3 separate regions of the Homo sapiens genome follow, and all the other regions are linked to region 3. Evidence: promoter capture Hi-C in 16 types of primary human blood cells and fetal thymus (Javierre and others, 2016). All regions are on one chromosome and are shown on one strand. The core of a region is centred on a gene start or on the middle of the fragment in contact, and the rest is flanking DNA. Distances in the headings are between cores, read along the strand shown. Region 1 holds the start of PLRG1 (pleiotropic regulator 1). Region 2 holds the start of MAML3 (mastermind like transcriptional coactivator 3). Region 3 holds the start of TMEM184C (transmembrane protein 184C).

Region 1 (3,520 bases), core at 184-2,683, 6.9 Mb after region 3:
CTACAAATTACACAAATCATAACCTAAAGTCAGATTGATTATACACTTCACGTGTTTAAATATGTAAAAAGCTTTATACCACTCACCATAGCTACTTGTTGCAAGCTACAGGAGTCAAGTTCAGAGAAGAGGAGGAAGCTCCTCTTTGGCTAGAACCTCAGGTTTAGCAACTGAGTGATGCCGGAGTTTAACTTACTCAATAAATATTTACTGAGCTCCTACTGTGTGTCTGGCAGGTATTGTGCTAGAATCTCACAATAGAATGATAAAAAGGTGGTCATGGTCCCTGTGCTCAAGAGGAAACAGACAAATAAAAAGTAAAATAATTCCACATTTTGATAAGTGCTATGAAGGCAACAAGCAAGGCGCTGAGTCAGGGAATGAAGGACTAAGTATAATTGTGAAAGATTTCACTAAGGTGATATTTAAGCAGAAAGGGAGTTAGCCTTGCACAAAACAGAGGTAAGAACGAACCAGGCTGATGGAAATGTCATGTAAAAAAAAGTTCAGTTAACTGAAATAATACAAGGAGCGCAGTACAGCTGTGTATGGAGGATGAGATGGTGCTTTGTAGCTGCAAGGGTAGACAAGGTCCAGATTAGGTAAGGTCTTTTAGACTATTACAACAGCCTATATTTTGTTCTAGCAACATAGGGTCAGTAAAGGGTTTTAAACAAGAAAGGTATGAACAACTTACGTTTTAAACAGAACAACTTATAGAACAAAATGGAAGCAAGGAAACCAACCAACGGGGAGCTAATGCACCAGTCCAGGTGAAAGATGATGTTGGTCTCAATTAAGGTGGACTGCAGCGGATATGGAGAAGAGTGAATGGAATCAATAAACATGTGGGGTAAGATGGACAAGACCAGCTAACAGCGTTGGCTGTTCATGCCAGGGAAAGATGTAAAGAACGGCAAGTTTTTCTGGGGGTAGAGGTGAAATAAGAGACGACCTGAACGCAAGATAGAGAAGACTACCAATCTTTTAGGGCACAGACTCACTGACACTGCCCCGAGGGCGGCAAGTACCAGTGGTCGATCACCAACAGAGGCCCCGCCTCCGAGGACACTTTCCAGCTCCCAAGAGTCAAACGAGGACTGGACGAATTATCTCAGGCTTCGCGCCCAGGCTGAACCTCCGACTCGGGTTCTCATCCGGCTTCTACCCCTTCCCCGAAAACCCGAAGAAGAGACCACTCGGCCTTGGCCAAATAGCTCCCCTCGTAGCCTCTTTTCTCTCTGGACTCCAAGTACTCTCAATCCCCCACGCGCACTGCCAAAAAAAACAGTCCAGAGACAAACGACTCTTGAGAGCCCCAGTGTCACTTTACCTCGACCATGATGCTACCGTGTATCCCACCTCCGGCAGGGAAGAAACTCTAATCACTAACGCAGTACCCGCCGCCACAGCTGTGCAGCACCTTCCGGAATTGGGCGCCCAGGCGGCGGATGTGATGCAAGCTCTGCGCACGCGCGCTAGTCTCCCTCGGCCATCTAGGATCAGGAGGCGGGTCTCCCTCCTCGGGACCGCCTCTAGGGCGGAGTCTCGAGGCTGAAAGCCGGAGACTCCTGGAAGGGCCTGGGTGGAGGGTTTCACTCGTCCCTCTGAAGAAATCTTAGAATTATGTTTTCTGCCTTAGTTGGGGTCCTGGTTGTTCGTGCTGTATTCCCCGGAAGCTTAACGCTTTTTATTCAGAGAACCTAAGCGTCTGGAGAGCAAACTCCCGTGGGCTCTATCTAAGGCATTTCCACTACCTTGATCTCTTTGGAGGTCGCCTGCGTGCTTTGTGTCTCCTGGTTCTAATCCTGGCGAGAAGCACTTGGACACTTGTAGGCTTAACACCTGAAAACAATTTCGCTTAAACAGTCCAGTAAACACTTGTTAAGTGAACGTTGAGGAATAGCTGTTTTAATTTGGAAAATTTTGACATGTAGTTATAACAAAACCCCATATTTATTTTCTGCTAATAGATTTTTTTTTTTAATTTCTCAAAACTGCATAGCTCTTGTCCATTTCCTAGTTGCCTGCTGATTATTGTGGCTTCAACAATGCCAGGGTACAGCTTTTCAAAGCTGGTAGAAGACACAATTGGAGACTTTAGCCATTTTTATTTATACATATCCTTGTGCCAAGTATTGGTATTTTTGCTTTCTACCCTGGTAAAATCTGTGGTTTGTGATCAACCCTACCCAATTATTTTTCTATGTAAAAAAAAAAATGGATGGACTTAGGCATTTACAAACTTAAATAGACAAACATTTTACTGGCCCTGTTTCAGTTTCACTAATCCTGTCCTGAGAGCATACTGCTTACACTTTGAGAGGGGGAAAAAATCTAGCAAAAGAATAGCAATATAAATCAACCTTACTTGGAAATTCATTAAAAACATTAAGGTCATGGGTTTTTGTTTGAGACAGAGTTTCGCTCTTGTCGCCCAGGCTGGAGTGCCATGGCGCGATCTTGGCTCACTGCAACCTCAGCATCCCAGGTTCAAGCTATTCTCCTGCCTCAGCCTCTGGAGTAGCTGGGATTACAGGCGCCCGCCACCATGCCCGGCTAATTTTTGTATTTTTAGTAGAGACAGCGTTTCACCATGTTGGCCAGGCTGGTCTTGAACTCCTGACCTCAGGTGATCCGCCCGCCTCGGCCTCCCAAAGTGCTAGGATTACAGGCATGAGCCACTGAGCCCTGCCTTAAGGTCATGTTTTTACTTGAAGATACAGCATCTCTGAATTTAACTGTGAGTTTGGCCTAAGAATTGCTTTTCTGTAAAGGTGGCAGGTGATGGTATTTCCTTGCAAGAAAATACCATAATTGTAAAATATATACTTGATGAACTAAATAATATACTCACCTATTAATAATAACTATAGAAAATAACATGATTTGAAATGACAATAAAACCATAGAAACCTAAGCAAGACTAATATATATGGCAATATATTAATTGTCTAGTTGGATCTATTAACTTTTTACATATTTAATCATCCTGGAGACATTAATTTAATTTCTCAATAACAACATGGTAATGATTGAGGTAAATTGCCTCGAATTTGCTCCTTTTAAAACACTGTCGTGAATTTATAGAATGATGTCATCCCCTTGAAAGTTTACAATATTTTAGATAAATATAGAACTCAAGTGACCCTATTATTTAGTTCAGGGATTCATGAATTATGTATATTGTAGGAAAATTTTGTATTTATATGGGAATATGTTTTATTTTCTGGAGAAAGGATCCACAAGTTTAATTGGATTCCTGAAAGGCTCCGTCATACACACATGGCCTGGCTGACACCCGAAGCTGCCTTATTTGAACAGCAGGTGTCACCACTGCTCTTTGTACGGGCCCTCAGGGCTGTCCTTAAAGCAGACACGGCAAGTAACTTATTAATATAAATTATTAGTATTATGTCTGTGTAAAACCAAGAATACAAGTTTTAAGGAAAGCCCTCCTTCTTTAGGCAAGATTTTTTAAACTCACCAATACAGAAACTCTTTTTATTCTCCTTCAAAT
Region 2 (3,364 bases), core at 598-3,097, 7.5 Mb before region 3:
CCCCCCTAGGGGTTGAGGGCCTGGTGCCCGCCCAGAACCTGCGACAGCATCAATATTTCCACGCACCCGGCGGATGTGCTGAGAGGGGTGGGCGTAGGGGGACGGGTCTGGGGAGGCGAGGCGGCGCGGCTAGAGGTGGGGTGGGGAGCGGCGAAGAGGAGGAGCAAGGTTTCAACTCAGGGGTTCACTCTTTCAAATCGGTATCTTAAGAAAGGGAAGGGGGGAAACTTTTCCAGCACCTCACTCCGACGCTCCTCTAGGCTCCCTCCGCCCCTCGCAGTCGTGACTGGCTTCTCCCCTCTCGCCCCCTCCTCCCCAAATCTGACAACCCTGACAGATTAACAGGTAGCGACGACGGCAGCTTTTTCCCTAAGAAAAGTTGACGTTAACCCTTAGGCTTCAGCCCACCTCACCCACCGTGCAAATCAGACCCTTGTACCCCCATGTAAGAAGCTCCACGCGCCCCCCACCACCACCACCACCCCCAACGCGCGCCGCAAGCCCGCTGCCCGTGCGCCCTCACCATGATCAGCGTGTGGTTCCTCTGCTCCGCCGAGGCAGCCTCCGCATCTTGCTGGGGTTTGCTCGGGTGCTGCTGTTTGCCGGTGCCGGCGCCCGATTTCTTGGCCCTCTGCTCCAGGGTCCGCTGGTAGAGGCTCACGGTGTCCCGGCGCTCCAGCTCCAGCTGCTCCACCTGAGCCTGCTGGTACCTGTTCTCGCAGTTGACGTGGTGCCGACGGCAGCCCTCGATGCGCTGGCGGAGCCGCTCCACCACGGTGCTGTGCTTGGGAACGGCCGCCGAACCGCCGCCGGGGCCCCCGGAGCCGCCGCATCCACCGGCTGCCGGGTGATTGCTACTCGGAGCAGCGGGAGTACTATTGGGAGTATTATTCACACCGATCCCGGCCCCGCCGAGGCTGCTGTTCAGGCTACTGTTGATGCAAATACTACTGCCATTCGCGGCAGCAGCGGGGGCTGCGAAATCCCCCATCCTGCTCCCCGGGCACACTATTTTGGAAGAACTTTTTTTATCCACCCCCCTATCAGCCTCCTCCTTGGGTCCAAGGATTAAAATAGTTTAAGTGGAACGCGGGGGAGACGCAAGCACATGGATGGAAACGGCGATCCCGACGGGGCGAAAAAAACGGGGGGGGAGATTTTGGGGTGGTTTTTGTTTCCTTTTTTTAAACTGTAAAAGCTCAAGGGGAAGAAAAGGGGGGAACGTTATCGGAATACCATCAGACACCTATCAACAAAAAGAATCACAACAAACTGAGCCAGCAGCAAATCGGGTTGCAACTCAAGGGGAGATCCGCTCCTTGCTTGCCTTCTTTTTATAATCCATTATTTTCTAATAAATTCCAGGAGATTTCCGGTGGTTGGCAAGCATTTTCTCCCTACATACCGAAAAACACACCCCATGTACACACACAAGCATATGCCTCCAGTGCGGACACGCGCGACACACACTCACTCCACACCGCATCGGAAAACGGCAAGCTTGCTTATTGCATTTTCCTTCCACAAAAAAGTTTTGGTGTTTATGCCGCCCCGTGTTCTCAAAGTACTTTGGCTGCTCAGTTGCATTTCACAGGAACCTAGATATCGAATCCTCGGGCTGGGGGAAGTAAACACATGGACAGTCCGAGGCGACTGCAAAAGTAGATCGGTGAAGTCCTTTGCAAAACGCCGCGCAGAGAGCAGCACCTAACGCTCGGCTGGGCTGCCGCTGCCGCCGCTGCTCCTGCCACCATCACAATGATCAACTGCTCGCCGCCGCCGCCGCCGCCGCCTCCTCCTCCTCCTCTCGCTCCTCCACCTCCTCCTCCTCCTCCATGCCAGCGGAGTGATATCAGGACGCGCGAGCTCAGTAAACACGGCAGCGGCGGCGGCTGGAGGCCGTGAGACAGGCCCGCGGACACGGCGCAAAACCCGGCCCGGACTCTCACCCGGCAGGAGCGGGCGCGGCACGCACCAGCACCCGGCTCCCGTCTCCGTCGCCTCGGCGCCCGGCGCCCCTCCTACGCCCCCAACCACACTACCGCCCCGCCGAGAAGCCCAGAGCCGTCGGCGACGGAGAGAAGAAAGATTCTGGGGGGATCTCAGAAATAAATCAACTTTTGACCTGTGTGTGTGCGTGAGAGCGTGTGTGAGTGTGTGTGTCTGTGTATGCGCGCGCGCGTGCGCGGGGACGCGCCTGGTAGGGTTTCCTTATTCCAAGGAAAGTATCAAGCGATCCCAAGTTGTTGTTATACATTTATGCATTATATTGCAGAACTGTGCATGACCAGGCAGAAACATTGAAGCTTTACAGCAGTTGTCTGTCATCCCTATCCATGTGGAAAGAAAAAGGCAAATGAGTGACTTGTTTTTAAAACCCAGGTAATAAGTCTGCGCTAGTAACAGCGCTACTTACGGACACTTGTTCCAAGTCTAGGCCAGACTGAACACACAAATACCAAATTCTAAATAAATAGAAATAGGCATCAAAAATGTGTAATATTTAACTCACTGTACATAATGATTGTTGTTACTAAGTCAATTATTGTTTTACTTACCCTTGGAAAAAAATAAAGCAAGCAGGGACTTGGAGGTGAGACTAACAGTACATTTAAACAGACTGTTTTGAACACTAGGTGCTAATGACAGCAGTAATTAAGGTCCTTCGTAAATCAAGTGGAAAGATTGCAGATTTCATAGACTAGAACTATAGAAAAAACACAGCATTTCACAGTTTGTCATGACCAAAACAAAAACAAGCAAAAATAACAGGCCTACTTTATTGCTGGATATATTTCTTTCCATTTCAATGAATTCACAATAAGTACAATTAAAATGGACTAGCAACTGCAGAAATCAATCTAAACTTTCCATTTTATTAAAGCACATTATCTTTCCCGATATTATCTAAAAACAAAAATAACAACTAAGGATCAAATATTCTTGAATATGGACTTAAACCATTGCATATACATATTTTTAAAAATTAAGATGGAGAAATTATTATTTCTCTAATAATCAGTAAACTATAAATCTTGATTGTGAGATGTTAATTATAAGTCATTTTGTATTATTTCAATAAATCTTAAGAATTAGTTTTTAGGGTAAAAATACACCCCAGTTTTCTAAAATAGCCAGGAATAAAAGAACTTTGGATCTTATGCATTAGTCATGAGATCTGATTTAAACCATCTTCATTTCTTGGCATTGCAGATTAGCACAGGATGCTATTTCTAACCTCATAATGTCAGCGATAAGAAGCTATATTTTTCTTCAATTAATCAGTTCTATATAGTGAACGATATTTTTAATATTCACTGGATATATGGCAAAATGGGCAGCAAAATATTTAATACGGTGTGAG
Region 3 (3,508 bases), core at 205-2,704:
GCTCACTGCAAGCTCCGCCTCCCGGGTTCACGCCATTCTCCTGCCTCAGCCTCCTGAGTACCTGGGACTACAGGCTCCCGCCACCACAACTGGCTAATTTTTTGTATTTTTGGTAGAGACGGAGTTTCACTGTGTTAGCCAGGATAGTCTCGATTTCCTGACCTCATGATCCGCCCACCTCCGCCTCCCAAACTGCTGGGATTACAGGCATGAGCCCCTGCACCCAGCCTTAATTTCCATTTTTAAAGTAAGCTTAGGAAGAACAAACATAAGGCCTATTTTTCCGGTAGAAAGTAGTTTGGGTCAGGTTGTAAAATACAAATGTTAACAACTGAGAAGTAGGCAGTGAAGTCAAGTCCAAACAGACGATACCAAAAAAGGGGCTCATAATATTCCTTAGGTGTCTCTGTGAGACTCCTGGGCTAGGTGTACTCAATGTTACAAGCCTCCTTATCCGTATGGTCATTAGGCGGAAATTCCCCAGGTGGCAGGTACTAGCAGGTCAAATGCTTAAATATAATGCCCTTTGGAGTCACAAAGACCAAGGTTGCTATCTCCACACTACCACTTAACTAGCTCAGTGAGCCTGGGCAAATTTATCAGCCACTTGACTTTTTTATCTGTAAAGTGGAAAAATGCCTACCTCTCAAAATTTTTGTGCAGAACAACTTACATAATGTAGGTAATGAACTTAGTACAGTGCCTGTCCCCCTGAAAATTACAATTACAATATAAAACGCATTTGTATATGTAATTGAGTAGTAGATATTTGTTTACTCTATTGGTTTAGCTAAAGGCTTTAAGCATATGAAACTCCTTTGTCAGATGGAATGTCAACTTTTTAAAACTTAAATGAGTGCAAATTTTTAACACAAGTTCCAAATGTAGAAGGGACATTCCCTATTTGCGGTTAATTCTAAAATGAAGCTACCTTTAGAATGATCCTTCTGTAGGATCCAGAAATAACCAAGCGGCCTAGCCCCTAGATTCTAGCAACTGACAGAAAACTAGGTGGAGGTTTCCCATTCTTCCTTGTCTTCTTACTCCAGCGGGCTTCTGTATCCACTCTAGATTGAATAGGGGATGTTTTGTGTAGAGATGGGCCTTCTCTCTTCCAGTCCAACTCTGAAGTAACCGCCCCTTACCCAAGCTTTCTTTAAACTGGAATAACGCCAGCAGAAGAATGTAGTAGGTGTGCTTCAAGTGTCCTCAAATAATTCCCGCAGCTTCCAGAATCCTTGCAATAGCCCGCTGGACCATCTGCGGCAATTCCACCCACTTCCACGCACCTGCTCTTCTTTCTAACCCCAGTACGCAATCCTGCAGCCCCGCCCCCACAGCTGACCAATCAGAGGGCGCAAAGTGAGTCGGATGGGGCGGGCCCAGTTTGGCGCTGACGACGAATCACCTGCCTCAGACAGCAGGGGCGGAAGCGGAAAAGAGCTGAAAGTCTTGGTTTGGCCTTGGGTTCCGCTGTAGGGGAGGTCCCGTGCGAAAGAATGAGGAGATCCTGGGGCCTTACCTACTAGCGGAATCGACTGAAGAGACGCCTGCCAGTGCGGGAGGTAGGAAGCTCGATCCCCAAAGAAAAGAGCGAGTGGGCAGGCAGCTGCGAGACAGAACCGGAGTGTGCAGGGTCCCTAGAGGCCGGTTCCTGGTCTGTGCTGCTCTCCTGGAAGCCATGGTACAGGCAGAGCTCAGGGCGATCCCCAGGTGAGGGCAGCGGCTCTGCCTGGGATTCCACCGCAGTACAACCGGGTAGATGCGGGGTGGAGAAGAAAGGATGTTGCCTGCACTGCTCGCCAATAGCACCCTGAGAGGCTACATTTGCAGAAGCAGCAGCAGCAGAAGACACAGCGCCGGTCCAGGAGGCGGCTCGAGCTGTTCGTAAAGTCGCCCGACAGCTTTTTCTCCGTAGTATGCGAGTTGACAAAACAGCCAGAGAACAGGGCTCCCCATTACAATCTTTTCGAGATCTTTTCCCTTGCTAACCGGATCTGATTTGTGCGAAAACATGCCTTGCACTTGTACCTGGAGGAACTGGAGACAGTGGATTCGACCTTTAGTAGCGGTCATCTACCTGGTGTCAATAGTGGTTGCGGTTCCCCTATGCGTGTGGGAATTACAGAAACTGGAGGTAAGAGGGTTCTGCACCATCAGCCTGTACACTTTCTTCTACCCATCTATGGTTGGGAAAGAGACACCCTTACCCCATTTCTGCCCTGACAGTCCTGAAAACCATCTAATGTAAACGAGCCTACTCTTAGGATATAAACCTGTCTAATTTCTTGTTCACGGTTCTTCAAGTCATGCTACAGGTGGAGGTGGGACCGGGTCGAGAAAATAGAATATATTAATATAGCTGCTTAGAAGGGCACTGTTTTGCAAGTATTCATCAGTTCCCTGAAAGTAAGGTAATTTTATTGCTGAAATCTGATCTGTTCAGACATTGGACGAAACTAGGTCAAATAAACTACCTTGAAAACCATGTATTGAATTTTATTAGCTTTTAACTAGCTTCTTGAATCAAAGCGTTCTAGTTGTTTTAACTTTGGTGTCTGTTTTTACTGTGGAAATTAGCTCTTACCCAACAAAGGTTTTGCAAAAAGTCCCTTATATATATTTTTTGATGTCATATGCTTATTGTGACATCAGTAATGTACTACAAGCTGGAAAACCCCAAGGTAAATAACTCAGATATAAATATTATATAATGAACTTTAAATTCGGAGTTAATAAAACCCACCAAGTACTTTTACAGAGGAACACCTATTACAAGAACTATAATAAGACCATGACTATTTTAGGCCCTTCTTTATTGTGGAAATGATTTTTACATAAACTGTATTTAATATACATTTGTGTTCTCTATTTACACTAAATTATTTTCTGATGACTTTCCCATACTAGCATAGTCCATATAGTTTTTTGTTTGTTTGTTTATGAGACGGAGTTTTGCTCCTGTTGCCCAGGCTGGAGTGCAATGGCGAGATCTCGGCTCACCGCAACCTCCGCCTCCTGGGTTCAAGCGATTCTCCTGCCTCAGCCTCCCGAGTAGCTGAGATTACAGGCATGCGCCATCACGCCCGGCTAATTTTGTATTTTTAGTAGCGACGGGGTTTCTCCATGTTGGTCGGGCTGGTCTCAAACTCCTGACCTCAGGTGATCTGTCCTCGGCCTCCCAGAGTGCTGGGATTACAGGTGTGAGCCACCGCACCCAGCCCCATATACTTACTTGTTGTTGTTGTTGTTTATTTTTATTTATTTATTTTTGAGAAAGAGTCTAGCTCTGTCGCCCTGGCTGGAGTGCAGTGGCGCGATCTTGGCTCACTGCAACCTCTGCCTCCCAGGTTCAAGCGATTCTCCTGCCTCAGCCTCCCAAGTAGCTGGGATTACAGGTGCCCACCACCACACCCAACTAATTTTTGTATTTTTAGTACAGACGGGGTTTCACGGTGTTGGCCAGGCTGGTCTCAACTCCTGACCTTGTGATCCACCCACCTCGGCT

What was found. Contacts are between HindIII fragments. The CHiCAGO score rates a contact against its expected background, and 5 or more counts as called.
Region 1: the fragment with the promoter of PLRG1 here is called in contact with the fragment with the promoter of TMEM184C in region 3 in 4 of 17 cell types (total CD4 T cells, total B cells, fetal thymus and 1 more); the score reaches 7.0 in total CD4 T cells.
Region 2: the fragment with the promoter of MAML3 here is called in contact with the fragment with the promoter of TMEM184C in region 3 in 1 of 17 cell types (total CD4 T cells); the score reaches 7.3 in total CD4 T cells.

The regions. Positions count from the first base shown.
Region 1 is chr4:154,548,967-154,552,486 of GRCh38, forward strand. It overlaps PLRG1 (pleiotropic regulator 1), which reads right to left and starts at 1,434. Exons shown (of 15, transcript NM_002669.4): 1 at 1,334-1,434. The coding sequence starts at 1,342. RefSeq lists enhancers at 1,538-1,587, 1,608-1,767, 3,151-3,445. The HindIII fragment of the contact is 1,608 bases long and covers 70-1,677 here.
Region 2 is chr4:140,152,337-140,155,700 of GRCh38, forward strand. MAML3 (mastermind like transcriptional coactivator 3) reads right to left here and starts at 1,848. Exons shown (of 5, transcript NM_018717.5): 1 at 524-1,848. The coding sequence starts at 991. The HindIII fragment of the contact is 806 bases long and covers 1,499-2,304 here.
Region 3 is chr4:147,615,943-147,619,450 of GRCh38, forward strand. It overlaps TMEM184C (transmembrane protein 184C), which reads left to right and starts at 1,455. Exons shown (of 10, transcript NM_018241.3): 1 at 1,455-2,137. The coding sequence starts at 2,015. It overlaps TMEM184C-DT (TMEM184C divergent transcript), which reads right to left and starts at 1,303. Exons shown (of 2, transcript NR_186679.1): 1 at 1,146-1,303. RefSeq lists enhancers at 1,675-1,794, 1,825-1,874. The HindIII fragment of the contact is 5,941 bases long and covers 1,149-3,508 here.